Regions from separate parts of the Homo sapiens genome. Here all the other regions are linked to region 3. The links are contacts of gene promoters, found by promoter capture Hi-C in blood cells and fetal thymus (Javierre and others, 2016). All regions are on one chromosome and are shown on one strand. Each heading gives the region's core, a stretch centred on a gene start or on the middle of the fragment in contact. The rest is flanking DNA. Distances are from core to core; before and after follow the strand shown. Region 1 holds the start of PLA2G15 (phospholipase A2 group XV). Region 2 overlaps NFATC3 (nuclear factor of activated T cells 3). Region 3 holds the start of ACD (ACD shelterin complex subunit and telomerase recruitment factor).

Evidence for each region. The method cuts DNA at HindIII sites, captures the fragments that hold promoters and counts their contacts. A CHiCAGO score of 5 or more calls a contact.
Region 1: a contact is called between a fragment that was not itself captured here and the fragment with the promoter of ACD in region 3, in 1 of 17 cell types (neutrophils). The highest score is 5.9, in neutrophils.
Region 2: a fragment that was not itself captured here is called in contact with the fragment with the promoter of ACD in region 3 in 1 of 17 cell types (neutrophils); the score reaches 5.0 in neutrophils.

What each region holds. Positions count from the first base shown.
Region 1 is chr16:68,244,848-68,249,588 of GRCh38, forward strand. PLA2G15 (phospholipase A2 group XV) reads left to right here and starts at 526. Exons shown (of 6, transcript NM_012320.4): 1 at 526-706; 2 at 4,443-4,599. The coding sequence starts at 580. RefSeq lists a silencer at 346-575 and an enhancer at 992-1,492. The HindIII fragment of the contact is 1,545 bases long and covers 1,795-3,339 here.
Region 2 is chr16:68,218,413-68,223,154 of GRCh38, forward strand. All of the region lies in intron 9 of NFATC3 (nuclear factor of activated T cells 3), which reads left to right. Among named protein-coding and RNA genes, the nearest start is that of MIR6773, 13 kb to the right of the region's middle. The HindIII fragment of the contact is 8,696 bases long and covers 1-4,742 here.
Region 3 is chr16:67,657,552-67,662,381 of GRCh38, forward strand. ACD (ACD shelterin complex subunit and telomerase recruitment factor) reads right to left here and starts at 2,709. Exons shown (of 12, transcript NM_001082486.2): 1 at 2,571-2,709; 2 at 2,352-2,494; 3 at 2,151-2,244; 4 at 1,986-2,062; 5 at 1,824-1,868; 6 at 1,678-1,712; 7 at 1,377-1,528; 8 at 1,169-1,265; 9 at 1,004-1,090; 10 at 435-811; 11 at 211-302; 12 at 1-133. The coding sequence starts at 2,669. The coding sequence ends at 55. It overlaps PARD6A (par-6 family cell polarity regulator alpha), which reads left to right and starts at 3,409. Exons shown (of 3, transcript NM_001037281.2): 1 at 3,409-3,550; 2 at 3,904-4,126; 3 at 4,345-4,830. The coding sequence starts at 3,488. It overlaps CARMIL2 (capping protein regulator and myosin 1 linker 2), which reads left to right. Exons shown (of 38, transcript NM_001013838.3): 38 at 1-18. RefSeq lists an enhancer at 2,039-2,622 and silencers at 2,776-2,885, 3,196-3,675. The HindIII fragment of the contact is 13,736 bases long and covers 1-4,830 here.

The DNA of each region.
Region 1 (4,741 bases), core at 1,317-3,816, 590 kb after region 3:
GCCCTCGGGGCAGGGTGTGCTAAGAATTGGTGTGGGGGCTGCACAAAGGTCCTGGTCAGCTCCTGGTCACCTGAGGCCCAAGAACTGTCCGGGACTCACTTCCTCTCTTCTTGCTTTAACCGGGGTCGCTCAGCAGCGGCCAGCGCTGCACCCCTTATCCTCTCCCGGTCTTGTCCGTTCCAGATCCTCCAGGTCAGGGGGTCGCCAAGTGAGAGCTGCGCAGCGTGGATTTCGGGTACCCAGGGCTGGGCGGGGTACAGCAGCGGCGAGCTGGGTTCCCGGGTGGGCGACTGACAGCCCGGAGCCAGGCGATACCTCGATCCATCGATGCGCTCGGCGCTCAGCGTGGTCCAGGAAGCAGGGGGTTGGGCAAGGGCGGGGCGGCGACCTCCGACTGGGAGGGGCGTATATGGCGGCGAGTCCCTATTGGCCAGCCATTTGCGGGAGGCGGGCCCTGATTGGCCGGGGGGATGCGGGGGATGCGGGCGGCGGGGTTAAGCGCGTCGCCACCGCCCCCGCCTAGGCGAGAGCCCAGAGAGCTGAACCTGCATCCCGGACCTGCGGCGACCGTCGTACACCATGGGCCTCCACCTCCGCCCCTACCGTGTGGGGCTGCTCCCGGATGGCCTCCTGTTCCTCTTGCTGCTGCTAATGCTGCTCGCGGACCCAGCGCTCCCGGCCGGACGTCACCCCCCAGTGGTGCTGGGTGAGGCACGGGTCTCGTGGTGGATCTGTCGGTCGGGCGGGACGGGCCGCGGGCGGGGCTGCCTTCCCGGTCTGCTTCTGTTCCAGTCACGAAATGGGGGAGCGTATTGGTATCTGTCTTGTCACTTAGGTGATCTAGATCTGCCGGCTCACCTCCCGCCATGCTGGGCGCGGGTGTGGTCAGCTCCCCACCTCCTGTCCTGGTAGAAAATGGGGGTGAGTGGGAGAGTTACCATCTGGTTATTCATAGTTCCACCTGTCCGCATCATTCCCAAGCCTTGCCTCCCCTTATCCCATTTTTAAGCTGGAAAGACAGGTGCTTCAGCCCCACTCCTGAGGGATGGTGGGGGTGTGTAGAGTGGCTCCTGAGTTGACTTCTGCATCGACCTGGGCCTGGTTAGGAGGCTGTCACCCTCGACCCCTCCAATGCCACATATGCCAGAAGGCATTGCTGAAAGGAACCTCCTTAGGGAAAGGATTGCTGTCCTAGCTGGCCACCAACTCCCACAACTTATCAGATGTGTGGCATTGCCTGAGGGAAAAGGCCTAAGGGAAACTGAAGACAACTGAAGTCAGGGGAAAGGGTTGGGACAATGGCCATGAACCTGTGTCAGGCAACATGCTTGTACTCTTACCCTGCCACACATGCTTGGACTAGACTATGTGGAGGCTCGGTGACCTCCCCTGCTCACCCCGCTCCTTGATCACAACCCTGGCAACTCTACAACGGCCACTGTATTTCCTTGCAGGGATGGGCAGGGATGAGACCTCTGTCTGGGGGGCCTTGGGTGCCTCATTGAGGCCGTCACTCCCATCCAGAGCTGGTGTGTCCGTGGCCAGCCAGGATTCCTGAAAGCAGAGGCATCTGAGGCATGAATTACACGTGGAGTCTAGTGCAGCATGATCTCCATGCTCTTTCTGCTGAGAGTACTTTAAATGGGGACGATGCAAATCACAGAAGGGTAGAGTTGGCAGGTAGGGTGGTGCCAGGCAGGCCCCACCAGGAGTTCCCAGCCAGGAAAAGCTCCAGGGGGATACTAGGCCCAGGTTCACCATGGGATTTGGGCAGACTTGGCCCTGCCTCCCCAAAGCTTGCAGGATAGGAATAACAGTGATCCCCAGAGAGGAAGTCTGTGTGGGGCAAGCACAGAGAATCCACCAACCCAGCCTGGATGGGTGGGTGTCAAGTAAGGCTTCCTGGAGTATATAGCTGGAGCTAAGGCCAGGAGAGAGTAATGGGTCGGGGAGAGACGTGAGCATCTCAGGCTGCCTGGGATCGAGTCACAGGAGGAGTGGACTGCACAGGACTTGTGACTGGTTGGGTCATCTGAACTTTATCTTGAGGGCCTCAGGGAGTCCTGGGTTGGCCTGCAGAGTTCTAAGTCTGAGGGGCGTGGCATTAGGAAGCATGTGGTCTGTGGCACACAAAATGGCACATAGCCATTTTGCCTGGATTGATGCTAACCGCACTCATCAATTCAGTCAGTCTGTTTATCCTTGGTCACAGCAGAAGAGCCTCAGACCCCACCCAGAATCACAGAGCAGCAGGAGTCCTAACATGCCCAGCTTCTCAGGGAGTGAGGCTGCTGGCCTTAGCCCTGGGAGACCTCACGGTGGGCAGTTGGATAAGCAGCTCCTGGGCACAGAGCAGGGATCTGACCTTGACTGTCAGAAGATCAGAATCCTCTAGGGGTGGATCCTGAAATGGTGGTGGAGGAAAGAGAGACCAGCGATGTGATACAGAAGACCCTGGGCAAGGGGAAGGGACCATAGGCAAGGCCATTTCCACCTCTTGCAGCCTCAGTCTCCCCATCTGTTAAGTGGAAATAGTAAGGCTGTCCCCTCCCAGTGTTACTTGAGGTGAAAGGCATGTGGATGGCTCTTTTCCTAGTTCCAGGCGCAGATGGGCTCAGGAAGTGGCCACTGCTATTTTTAGGGGCCACACAGCCTGACCAGGGTAAGGAGCATCTGAGCAAAGCAGATCTGGTGACTTCCTCTTTTACCATTTCCCCTTTGGTAGAGACAGTGACCAGGGTCTCTGCCCTGCCCTGCCCAGTCCACAGGCATGTCATCCAGAGGCTGTCATGACAGGGACTCCCTCCCTCTGCACCCATACCATGAAGGGAGGTGAAGGCATGTGCCGCCCCTGCCTCTCATGGCACCCTGAAGACACTGGGATGGTGCCCAGGGAGGGCACGCCCTGTTCAGGGTGGATTTACGGTCAGTTCCCAGTGAATGTCCAGGAGAGCCAAGTGCTGGTTTTTCACTCAATGATCATGGACCCTAAACGGGGATGTGTTTGGGAAGTGGCGAGAGCATGGCATGTGGGGGCAGGTGAGGCCCGAAAGGTCAATGGGAGTAACGAGACTGTGAAGGGCTTTGACGCAGTGGGGAGGGATTTGGGTGTCACCAGGGCCCCAGAGTTCTGAGTACACTGAATAGGATGGCTGGGATGGAGAGAAGTCACCCTAGGGCCTGGACTGTGGTGATAATGGTGCTGGTTCAGGGTGGCTGTTTCCAATACGGGCTCCCAGCCATGCTAGGGCCCTCCAGATGATCTGCTCTCTGGCACCTTACTGGACTCTGGCCTTTAGTAAGGCCTGGGCCCTTGGTAGGCTGGCGGGTGCCAATGTAAGCTTCTCTCAGCTGTGTTTCTGTTCATTTCCCTCCCACCAGCCTGTCCTGCATACTTTGTCTGGTTGAATTTTAGCTGAGTGGCCCAGGGCTCTGTTCTGTTTCCTTCTTCCTCTCTCAGGGCGAACAGGACCCTGTCTTCTATGTAGCCTGGGATAGCTATGGGTGGAAGACTTTTGGGTTCAAGCCTCCAGGGTATATATCTTTTTTTTTTTTTGAGACCGGGTCTTGCTCTGTCACCCAGGCTGGAGGGCAATGGCACGATTTTGGCTCACTGCAACCTCTGCCTCCCGGGTTCAAGCAATTCTCCTGTCTTAGGCTCCTGAGTAGCTGGGATTACAGGTGTGTGCCACCACACCAAGGTAATTTTTTGTATTTTTAGTAGAGATGGGCTTTCACCATATTGGCCAAGCTGGTCTTGAACTCCTGACCGCAAGTGATCCACTCACCTCGGCCTCCCAAAGTGCTGGGATTACAGGCATGAGCCCCTGCGCCCTGCCTCGAAGGTATATATCTAATGACAAGGGCCTTGGCCAAACTTTGGAGGTTCTGGAATGCAAAGGGGTCTCCAAGCCCCTCCTCCCAGGCAGAGCTCCCATCGGGGTCCATTAACCATAGAAACCATGTGTAGAGGTGTGTCTGTGTTTGCTGGGGGTGATTCAGACCAAGATCTCATTTAACAGATACGGAAACTGAGGCCTAGTGTGGGGAGTGACTTCACCCTGAACCCCCTTCCAATAATCTGAATGGCCCAGGAGGATGTTCCAGTGAAAATCCAGGAGACTTACTTTATCTGGAGTTGGAGACAATGTTAGGGCCCTTCCCCAAACATGTCAGGCCTCTCCCAAGCCCCCCACAGGCATCTCTGCACCACACAGCAGTAGCAGCTTTTCTGCACAAAGATGGTTCCCTGGCCTTTGGGTCAAGGTCCCTGCTCTCTGAATTTCCTGCCACCAGCACTGTGCTTTAATTTGAGATGTGGAACTGCACAGGTCTGCCATATTATCTGTGGCTCTTCAGGGGGTCTGCTGCAGACATCAAAGTTCTTGGGAGTCTTGAACCTGCCGGGCTGAGGGCTCACACATGTCCTGTGCCCCCTGCAGTCCCTGGTGATTTGGGTAACCAACTGGAAGCCAAGCTGGACAAGCCGACAGTGGTGCACTACCTCTGCTCCAAGAAGACCGAAAGCTACTTCACAATCTGGCTGAACCTGGAACTGCTGCTGCCTGTCATCATTGACTGCTGGATTGACAATATCAGGTGGGGGCTGGGGCACACAGAGGGGGGTGCTGCTCACCAACAGTGCCTGAGAGGCCTCCAGAGTCTGTTCCTTCTATCCTCATCTCGAGGTCACTGACCTCTCTCCTTCCCCAGGTCCTCGGTCTGGTCTGGTCTGGTCTGG
Region 2 (4,742 bases), core at 136-2,635, 560 kb after region 3:
AAAATTTAAGAAAAAATTGGCCAGGTTTGGTGCTGTGCAGGTTGCAGTGAGCCAAGATCGTGCCACTGCACTCCAGCCTGGGCGACAGAATGAGAGCCTCTCAAAAAAAAAAAAAAAAAAAGGTGAATTCAGTATTTTTTCCTGTATTTAGTTTAGATGGTGCTTTTTTTTTTTATTTTGAGACAGAGTCTCACTCTGTCACCCAGGCTGGAGTGCAGTGTGCGATCTTGGCTCACTGCAAGCTCTGCCTCATGGGTTCACTCCATTCTCCTGCCTCAGCCTCCTGAGTAGCTGGGACTACAGGTGCCTGCCGCCACGCCCAGCTAATTTTTTGTATTTTTAATAGAGACGGGGTTTCACCATGTTAGCCAGGATGGTCCCAATCTCCTGACCTCATGATCCGCCCGCCTCGGCCTCCCAAAGTGCTGAGATTACAGGCGTGAGCCACCACGCCCGGCCTAGATGGTGCTTTTATAATAATTGCATACATGTAGGCTTCATTTTTAAAATACATTTAGTCTTTATTTTATAAAAACAACATCTCGGCTGGGCACGGTGATTCATGCCTGTAATGCCAGCGCTTTAGGAGGCCGAGGCGAGGTAGAAGGATCAATTGAGGCCAGAAGTTCGAGACCAGCCTGGGCAACATAATAAGACCCTGTCTCTATCCTCCCCAAAAATAAATCAGCTGGACCAGGCGCGGTGGCTCACGCCTGTAATCCCAGCACTTTGGGAGGCTGAAGCGGGCAGATCACAAGGTCAGGAGTTTGAGACCAGCCTGAACATGGTGAAACCCCGCCTCTACTAAAATACAAAAAAAATTAGCTGGGCATGGTGGCAGGTACCTGTAATCCCAGCTACTTGGGAGGCTGGGGCAGGAGAATTGCTTGAACCCGGGAGGCGGAGGTTGCGGTGAGCTGAGATCATGCCACTGCACTCCAGCCTAGGTGACAGAGCAAGACTCTGTCTCAAAAAAAATAAATAAAAATAAAAAAATAAATTAGCTGGTCTTGGTGGCACATGCCTGTAGTCCCAGCTACTTGGGGCAGGGCTCTGAAGCGGGAGGATCGCTTGAGCCTAGGAGTTCACGGCTGTAGTGAGCTATGATCACACCACTTCACTCCAGCCTGGGTGGCAGACTAAGACACTGTCTCCTAAAATAATAATAGTAATAATAATAATAATAACACCTTCATAAAATTGTTTACCCAGGGGATGAATACCTTTAATCTTCAGGTTCAGGAAAAGAATAACATGACCAAACTTTGGTGAATGTTCATTGCAGCTTCAAGAGGAAATAACATATAAATGGAGTCTAAAAATACCCCGAAATCCTTTACAAAATTGCAAATTAGAAAGGCCCGTTGGGATTTTGTGTATATGGCAGTGTGTATCTACTCCCTTCAAAGAGGGAGCACACTGGGTTACCCTGCCCCTCTCTACCTGGTTGTGAGGTTCCATACTATATACTTGTCAGTTCTAACTTTGAATTCTTAAGCATGGGAAATAGCTCTAAATAAGAGTCCTATTGGTACTCAAGCACCTCATTCTTGTGTGTAGAAATAGCATTCCAGTGGACTGCCAATTTGAACATTTCTTGAATACGAACTTTTTCTCTTACAGCAAACATTATTGATAGCTGTGACTCTACTTTTGTTGTGGTGGCACAGGCAAATTCAGGTGTTGGGGTAGTGGAAGTCACAGATGGTGGCTGCCAAAAGTGTGCCAGATCCTGTGACCTACATAACCTGTTAGCACCCTTATTGAGGACTGTTCACTCTTGTTCTAGGCTTTTAATTCACTTTGCTCTTTAAAGGGAGGAAAATGAGGGCTGGGTGCGGTGACTCACGCCTGTAATCCCAGCATTTTGAGAGGCCGAGGTGGCCAGATCATGTGAGGTCAGGAGTTTGAGACCAACCTGGCCAACATGGCAGAAACCTCGTTTCTACCAAAAATACAAAAATTAGCTGGGTGGGAGGCAGCAGTTGCAGTGAGCCAAGACCACACCACTGCACTCTAGCCTGGGTGACAGAGTAAGACTCTATCTCAAAAAAATTGGGGGGAAGAAAAATGATAAAATTGTACATTAGGGGCATAAACAATTCCTTATACTCTTATCTTAAATTGGTGAAAAAAATAGGAAACCACCTCACATACTTAGTGGACTAGAGTTTATTTTTCCTTTTTTTTTTTTTTAAGAGACAAATTGTCCCGGCCGGGCAGGGTGGCTCACGCCTGTAATCCCGGCACTTTGGGAGGTCGAGGCAGGTGGATCACGAGGTCAGGAGATCGACACCATCCTGGCTAACACGGTGAAACCCCGTCTCTACTAAAAAAAAAAATACAAAAAAAAAAAAATAGCCAGGCATTGTGGCGGGCGCCTATAGTCCCAGCTACTCGGGAGGCTGAGACAAGAGAATGGCGTGAACTTGGGAGGCGGAGCTTGCAGTGAGCTGAGATTGCGCCACCGCACTCCAGCCTGGGAGACAGAGGGAGACTCTGTCTCAGAAAAAAAAAAAAAATTGTCACTTTGTTTGTTGGCCAGGCTCTTCTTGAACTCCTGGCCTCAAACAATCTTCCTGCCTTGGCTTCCCCTAGTGTTGGGATAACAGGCATGAGCCATGGCACCTGGCCTGGATTACAGTTTAAATAAATTAGCAAATTCATGCATATATCCATTCAAGATGACTTGAAAAATTAAATTGCAAGCATTAGTATTTTTAACAACTTAAAAATTGTGCTTATCAAGATTGCTAATGACTTACATTTACATTACATCATAGATTTGTTTACCAGTAATAATTTTGACTTGCTTCAGTTGAGACCTACGTTTTGGCCAGTCCCAGCAGGAAGATATCTGAGGAATCTAGAGGTGAGAGCCTGAACCCAGAGCCCCCAGCCCGAGGGAGAAGTGAGGGAGAAGGAAAGCAGAGGACTTGCATGATTAACACTCGGCTCAAGTTATTGCTAAAGGTCTGTGAAAGCACTTTGTTGCAGTTCTGACTCCCTAGCCTAAAATTTATATTCAGTGCTCACCTGTAGCAATTACTTGAGCATGATTTTTGTTGTCATTGTTCCAAGTCCCCAAATTGTTTTAAAGATTCAGTTGGCAAGTAATTTTATTTAGTACTCAATATATGTAAGCACTAGGGATTCAGGGGAAAACAAGATAGAGAAAGTCTGCCCCGTTGGAACTTAAATCTCCTGACTGCTGGTGAATTCATAAATAAGTGAATCCTGTAGTATAATGTATAGTTGAGTATAGTCCGCTTGAGCACTACTTTGTGGAAAATCTTCTGACTTTAACATAGTCTTAAAATCCTAAACTGTCAGGAACTTTCCAGGTTCCTTCAGCTAAGTAAGGTGAGGCACACCAGGCAAAGGAACAGCAGAGCTTTGGCAAGGGGGAGCAGAAATAACACAGCATTGAGCAGGCTTCCATTATAATCAATACCACATATCTACTTTAGAAAATGATGGTTTCATCCTTATATAAGTGTACTTGGTAAGTGGATGGACAGTGCCAGATATGGACCCTCATCGTCAGGAAAATAGAAGCATTGACTTCTTATAAGATATAGAAGAACAACACCTCGGCTGGGTGCAGTGGGTCACGCCTGTAATCCTAGTACTTTAGGAGGCTGAGGCAGGAGGATCACTTGAGTCCAGGAGTTTGAGACTAGCTTGGGCAACATGGTGAGACCTCATCTCTGCAGAAAGAAAAAAAAAATCCAAAAATTAGAAAGGCATAGGCGTAGTAGCACATGCCTGTAGGCCCAGCTACTCAGGAGGCTTAGGTGGGAAGATCAAGGCTGCAGTGAGCCGTGATTGTGCCACCTGCATTCCAGCCTGGGCAACAGAGTGAGACCCCATTGCCAAAAAAAAAAAAAAAAAAAAAAAAAAAAAAAAAAAAATAGAAAAAAGAAAAAAAAGAGAGAAAACACGTCATGTGGTTTTTGATGATAAAACACCATTTAAAATCCGTTTGTAGTTTTAAAACTTGAACAGTGAAATACAAATTGTTAAAAGTGTTTTTCATAGCAGCCTGGAACATCTTTGAAATTATTGCCTTTGGAAGTGATAAATGATAAGAAAAGATGATTTGATTGTGAGCCAGGTGCTTGCTTATATATTTGGCTTTTTGCCACTGCTGTAACGCCTGCCTAAAATACACACTGTGAAAATCAAATAACATGCATTAGTCTTAACATACTCTGGTCCCCTTCCTACCTACCACCTAATGAACTTTCACTGTGCTTGTTCTAAATAGCTTCCAAGTGATTGTATTGAATTAGGGTCCATTTATTTAGTCATCAGGAATGGGTGTTTCCTCAGTGGCAAGGTTCTTGCCTTTTGGGAGTTCATAGCCTATTTGGGAGACATAATGATGATGCCTGATGATAATCTAATATGAAGAGGAGGCATGTTAGAAGTCACGCACAGAGATTTGTGGGCCATCCTTGTGCTCCCTCTTAGCACAAGACTAGCTCGTAGAACCCCCAGAACCTGCACAGAAAACACTCTTCCTTATATTTTTTGTGACTTGAAATAACAGGTGCCAAGGGCTGCCTTGCGTTCTTATGCCCACTTTATATTCCCTCTCTATGTACTGTATAAGAGGTATTTCTCTTCTCCATTGTACTGATGGGGAAACTGAAGAGAAAAATATATTCTTATGCAAAGCATCCTCACAACTTTTCATTTACAAAGAAACTATTCCAGTGAGTTATTTTTAGAAAGTC
Region 3 (4,830 bases), core at 1,459-3,958:
TTAAAAAACTCAAAGGAAGCAGAGTGTGGAGCGGTATCTGTCCTGCGTGACGTCTCACATCGGAGTTGGCTCAGACCCTGGCTGTGCATCCATCAGAAAGTGCAAGGCCCAGGCCATGAGCTGGGGAGGAAGCCTGGAAAGAAACCACCGCTGCAGGTCAATGGAGCCTGGGACTAGTGACCAAGAGTTGGGGCAGACCCAGGCACTCACCTGACAGCTTGGACCCGAGCACAGAGGGACGTGCAGGGTGGCTCATACTCATACTGGAAGGCAGAACCATCACGATGCCTCTTTGGGGGTTCCTGAAAGGGGTATGGTGTCTGGGGAAGAGCTAACAAGGACCCCAACCCCATCCAAGGCTACCCATGCTCCCTCCCAGCTCTACCTCAGGCCTTCCTTGTTCTACCCTCCAGCTGCAGAGGGGCTATGCTCACCCAGACAGAGCAGGGCTCCTGGGCTCCCCTGGTAGCTCCGGTCCTGGGAAAAGGCGGCCGATTCTTGCAGGGCAACCCTACAAACTCCTTGAACTCCAGGCTAGGTTTCTGGGGCCTGGTCACAAGAGCCTGGTGTGGACTGGGGACATGGCTACGGGGTGAGAGACTGGGAGTGCAGCTCTGGAGTGGGGAGCTGGGGGTACGGCTGGCGTGTGGGGACCTGGGGGTCAGGGTGGCAGGGGCTGAGCAGATGGCTGGTGAGGGCTGGGAGCTGCTTCTCTGCCCTGGGTCTGGAGCAGCCAAGGACAGGGCAGGCAGAAGGCTGATGCTGGTACCACTTTCCTCGGATGACATGTGGCCGGGTAAGGCCGGGGTTCCTGAGGAGGAGGGGACTTATTGTAGGCACAGCCCTCTCCGCTCAGGGCAGCTGAGTGGCCTGCGAGCTCAGACAGGACTGCAGGGACCGTGTTCATCCCCCACCCACCGTGCACCTTTCACAGCATCCTGCGCAGCCCGGGAACCTGACTGACAGGCGGCAGTGAGTGCCTGTGACCTGTGCATCACCTCACCTGAGGAACTGGGTGAGGAAGGAGGAGAGGCTATGAGGGTCAGAGATAGGTCCTGCAGAGCCGGGTCTGGTGGGGGCAGCTCAGGGCCTGGGGGGTTCAGGAAGTCTTATCAGCACTGTGGACCTGGGCCCCAGGTATCCCCCCAACCTCTCCAGTCCCCCTTACCCTGTGTCCTCTGACAGGGGCCTAGAGAGCTCAGAATTAGCTGGTCATTCTCAGAGATGCACAGCATTGAGCTGGGGACAGTGTACACAGCTTCTCCCTGTGGGACATGAACTCTGTAGGACAGGCCCGTTTACTCTCATGTCCTGTGGGATATGACCCTTGCCCAACTCCTCACCCTGACATCTCCCAAGCAAATCCCCAGACTGACCGTGGCCTTGCATCGTGAGGCAGCCCAGTGGGTGACAGGGGGTGCTGTGCAAGGGCCCTCCAGTGTCAGGCAGCTTTCAGCCAGGCACACGAGTGCCCCCTGATGCTCCTGGTCCTCCCGCATTTCATCCAGAAGCTGGGACAGTGATAGGCCTGGGGACAGGGGACCATGGGATGAGTCAAGGCTTAAAGGGGAGGACCAGGAGGGTGAGGGGGAAGACAGCTTATTGAGGAAGCATAAGGTTAAGGCTGGAGAGATCACTGCACAGCGTGTTAGGATCACTGGTCAAGCTCTACAGTACCTGCATTGGACGAGGTGGACTCTGAAAGGTGCTCCCTACAGGAAGAGAGTGGCCAGGACTCAGGAACCATGCTGAGGCCTGTCTACCTAGATACACCATCCCCTCACCAAACAACACGTGGCCCCCGAGCCCAACCCCAGACTCACTCAAGGCAGTCATAGAGCTTTTTCTGAACATCTAAGTCTTGGTTGCTAAGAAAAAGAGAAGGGTAGTTAATGGGGGCCCAAGCCCTCCTACCCCATAGGCGTCTGCCAGCGCCGGCCAGGCTGGGGTGGGGAGAGCTGCTGGAGGGCGGAGGCATCACTTACCAACCAGGCACCCGTAGCCGGGGCTGCTCCGTGGGCAGCAGGCTGAAGCGGTCCACCTGGAGATAGAACTCTGCGGGCTGGAGGAGTTCGGGGGGAAGGGGGGGTCTCAGAATCGTCACGAAGAGTCATGCCCGGTAACCCGCCCAAGGCAGTCTCACCACTCACCGCGCCGCCCTCAGCGACCTGGACATGAACCCCGCAGTCCTGCAGCAGCAGCAGCCGGCCCTCTGTCCCGCGGAAGCCGAACTCCTTCTCCTCCCTGCAACAAGCAGGATCCTCACTGCCGGGCCCACCTGAACACAAGGCCCGCCCACCTCGCGCTCTCCTGCCGGACTCCGACCTCCAGAGCCGCGCGGGGCCTCTCACCAGTCCGAGGTGTCCAGGGCCTCCCGCGTCACCAGGCATCGGACACTGTGGGTCCCGTCAGACACAAGCAGCGTGGCCCCGACGTCGGACGTATCAGGGGCGTGGGATGGGCCCGCGACCGCGGCCTCGGCGTCCTGTAGTACCTGACGGCGGCGAGCGGCGTCAATCCCACCACCCCGGGCCTCCGCCTCGGTCTCCGGGCCCTGAATGGGGGCTCACCTCAAGCAGCTGCCCGGCTCGTGGACTGGAGGGTGTCTCTGACCCCAGAATCAGCTCCCGAATCCAGGGCCGTAGGACCAGCCTCCCCGAACCTGCCATCCCCACGGCTACACCCAGCGGATGCAACGGGCCCGGGTTTCCCGCGGGCGCCCAGGCCCCGCCTTTCCTCGGAAGAGGAAGCTCCTTCGCTGGGCGGGGCCGGAGGAGGAGGCCCCGCCCACGTACACCCCGCGCCTGCGCACGAGGGCGTCCTGCTCGGGGGCCTGTGTGCAGACTCCCGCTGGTCCACCCCGCTGGTGCACGGGATGCTGGCCCGTTTACTCTCATCGCGGCGTCACTCTGACAGCGGCCAGGCATTTGGGCCGTTCGTCAAGATTCCTGTGGTACCGGTAGGGAACAGAACAAGGGCTGGTCCCGTCCCTGGAGAGGGTTCCAGGGCCGGAGGCTGAGGCCGAGTGCCGTCCGAGCGAGTTGACTCGAAACCATTTCAGCACCGTGTGACCCCCGAACGGTTCAGCACATATTTATTATGACTCAGTTTCCTCATCTACACAGTGCACGGTCTTGTAAGGCCAGTGGAAATAAGAGCACACACACAGCGCTAAATAAATGGTACTTCCTTCGCCCTCCCCTCGGATTGGCGGAGCCCTGCTCCCCAGACTCCGGGGGCGCGCGGACCTCAGCGTGATGACGCAAGAGCGGAGGACGGCTCCTCTCCATCCACGGCTCCGTTTCCTAGGAAACGTGGACTCCGCGTTCCACTCTGCGTCGCTGCCCCCTTGACGTCACGCTCCGGATGGGAAGGCGGGGCGTGTGCTACCGCCAGGGGCGGGGCGGCGCGGGCGGGCCGGCCGGGCTGTGCACCTGCGCCTCGGCGGGCCGCCTGGGGCACCGTCCCCGGCCCGCCCGGCCCCGCCATGGCCCGGCCGCAGAGGACTCCGGCGCGCAGTCCCGATAGCATCGTCGAGGTGAAGAGCAAAGTAAGGGCTCCTCCGGCCTCGGCCCTAGGCGCTCCCAATTCCCTCTTTCTCCCCTTCCCAGCTCCTTGGTCCCCGCCACCTCTTCCCTCTATCCTCCAAGTCCCATTCTGCTTTTCTGCTCGCCTTCCCCCATCCGTCTTCCTTCCTCCACTGCTGGTCTCCAGCTCTCTGTGGCCTGAGTACCTGGAGGGCGGTAAGAAGACCTTGGACAGCGTCCCTGGTACTGGAGCTGAGGTCTGGGCTTAAGGCTGCCGCAAAAGCGGCAGCCGCATCTTTCCCATTCCTGCCAGCCTGCGGTGAGAAAGGGGCGCAGGCTGTCCTGACTCCTCCTCTCCCCCAACCCCGACTTCCAGTTTGACGCCGAGTTCCGACGCTTCGCGCTGCCTCGCGCTTCGGTGAGCGGCTTCCAGGAGTTCTCGCGGTTGCTGCGGGCGGTGCACCAGATCCCGGGCCTGGACGTGCTACTTGGCTATACGGATGCTCATGGCGACCTGCTGCCCCTCACCAACGACGACAGCCTGCACCGGGCCCTGGCCAGCGGGCCCCCGCCACTGCGCCTACTGGTGCAGAAGCGGGGTGAGGAGGGGTACAGTGGGCAGCCTCTGTGGGGTAAGGTGTCTGTGGGGCAGGTCTACAAGGGTTAGTCCATGCCCAGGGTACCCAAGCGTCACCCTCTGCAGTCCCTGCCCTTGGCTTGACCTCTAAGTGGTAGGAAATAGCTACAGTGCCCCCTGTAAACAGCCCAAGTCGGGGAGCAGGTCTCTGATCTCAACATCCCCCCTCTTCTGCAGCAGAAGCTGACTCCAGCGGCCTGGCTTTTGCCTCCAACTCTCTGCAGCGGCGCAAGAAAGGGCTCTTGCTGCGGCCAGTGGCACCCCTGCGCACCCGGCCACCCTTGCTAATCAGCCTGCCCCAAGATTTCCGCCAGGTTTCCTCAGTCATAGACGTGGACCTACTGCCTGAGACCCACCGACGGGTGCGGCTGCACAAGCATGGTTCAGACCGCCCCCTGGGCTTCTACATCCGAGATGGCATGAGCGTGCGTGTGGCTCCCCAGGGCCTGGAGCGGGTTCCAGGAATCTTCATCTCCCGCCTGGTACGTGGGGGTCTGGCTGAGAGTACAGGGCTGCTGGCGGTCAGTGATGAGATCCTCGAGGTCAATGGCATTGAAGTAGCCGGGAAGACCTTGGACCAAGTGACGGACATGATGGTTGCCAACAGCCATAACCTCATTGTCACTGTCAAGCCCGCCAACCAGCGCAATAACGTGGTGCGAGGGG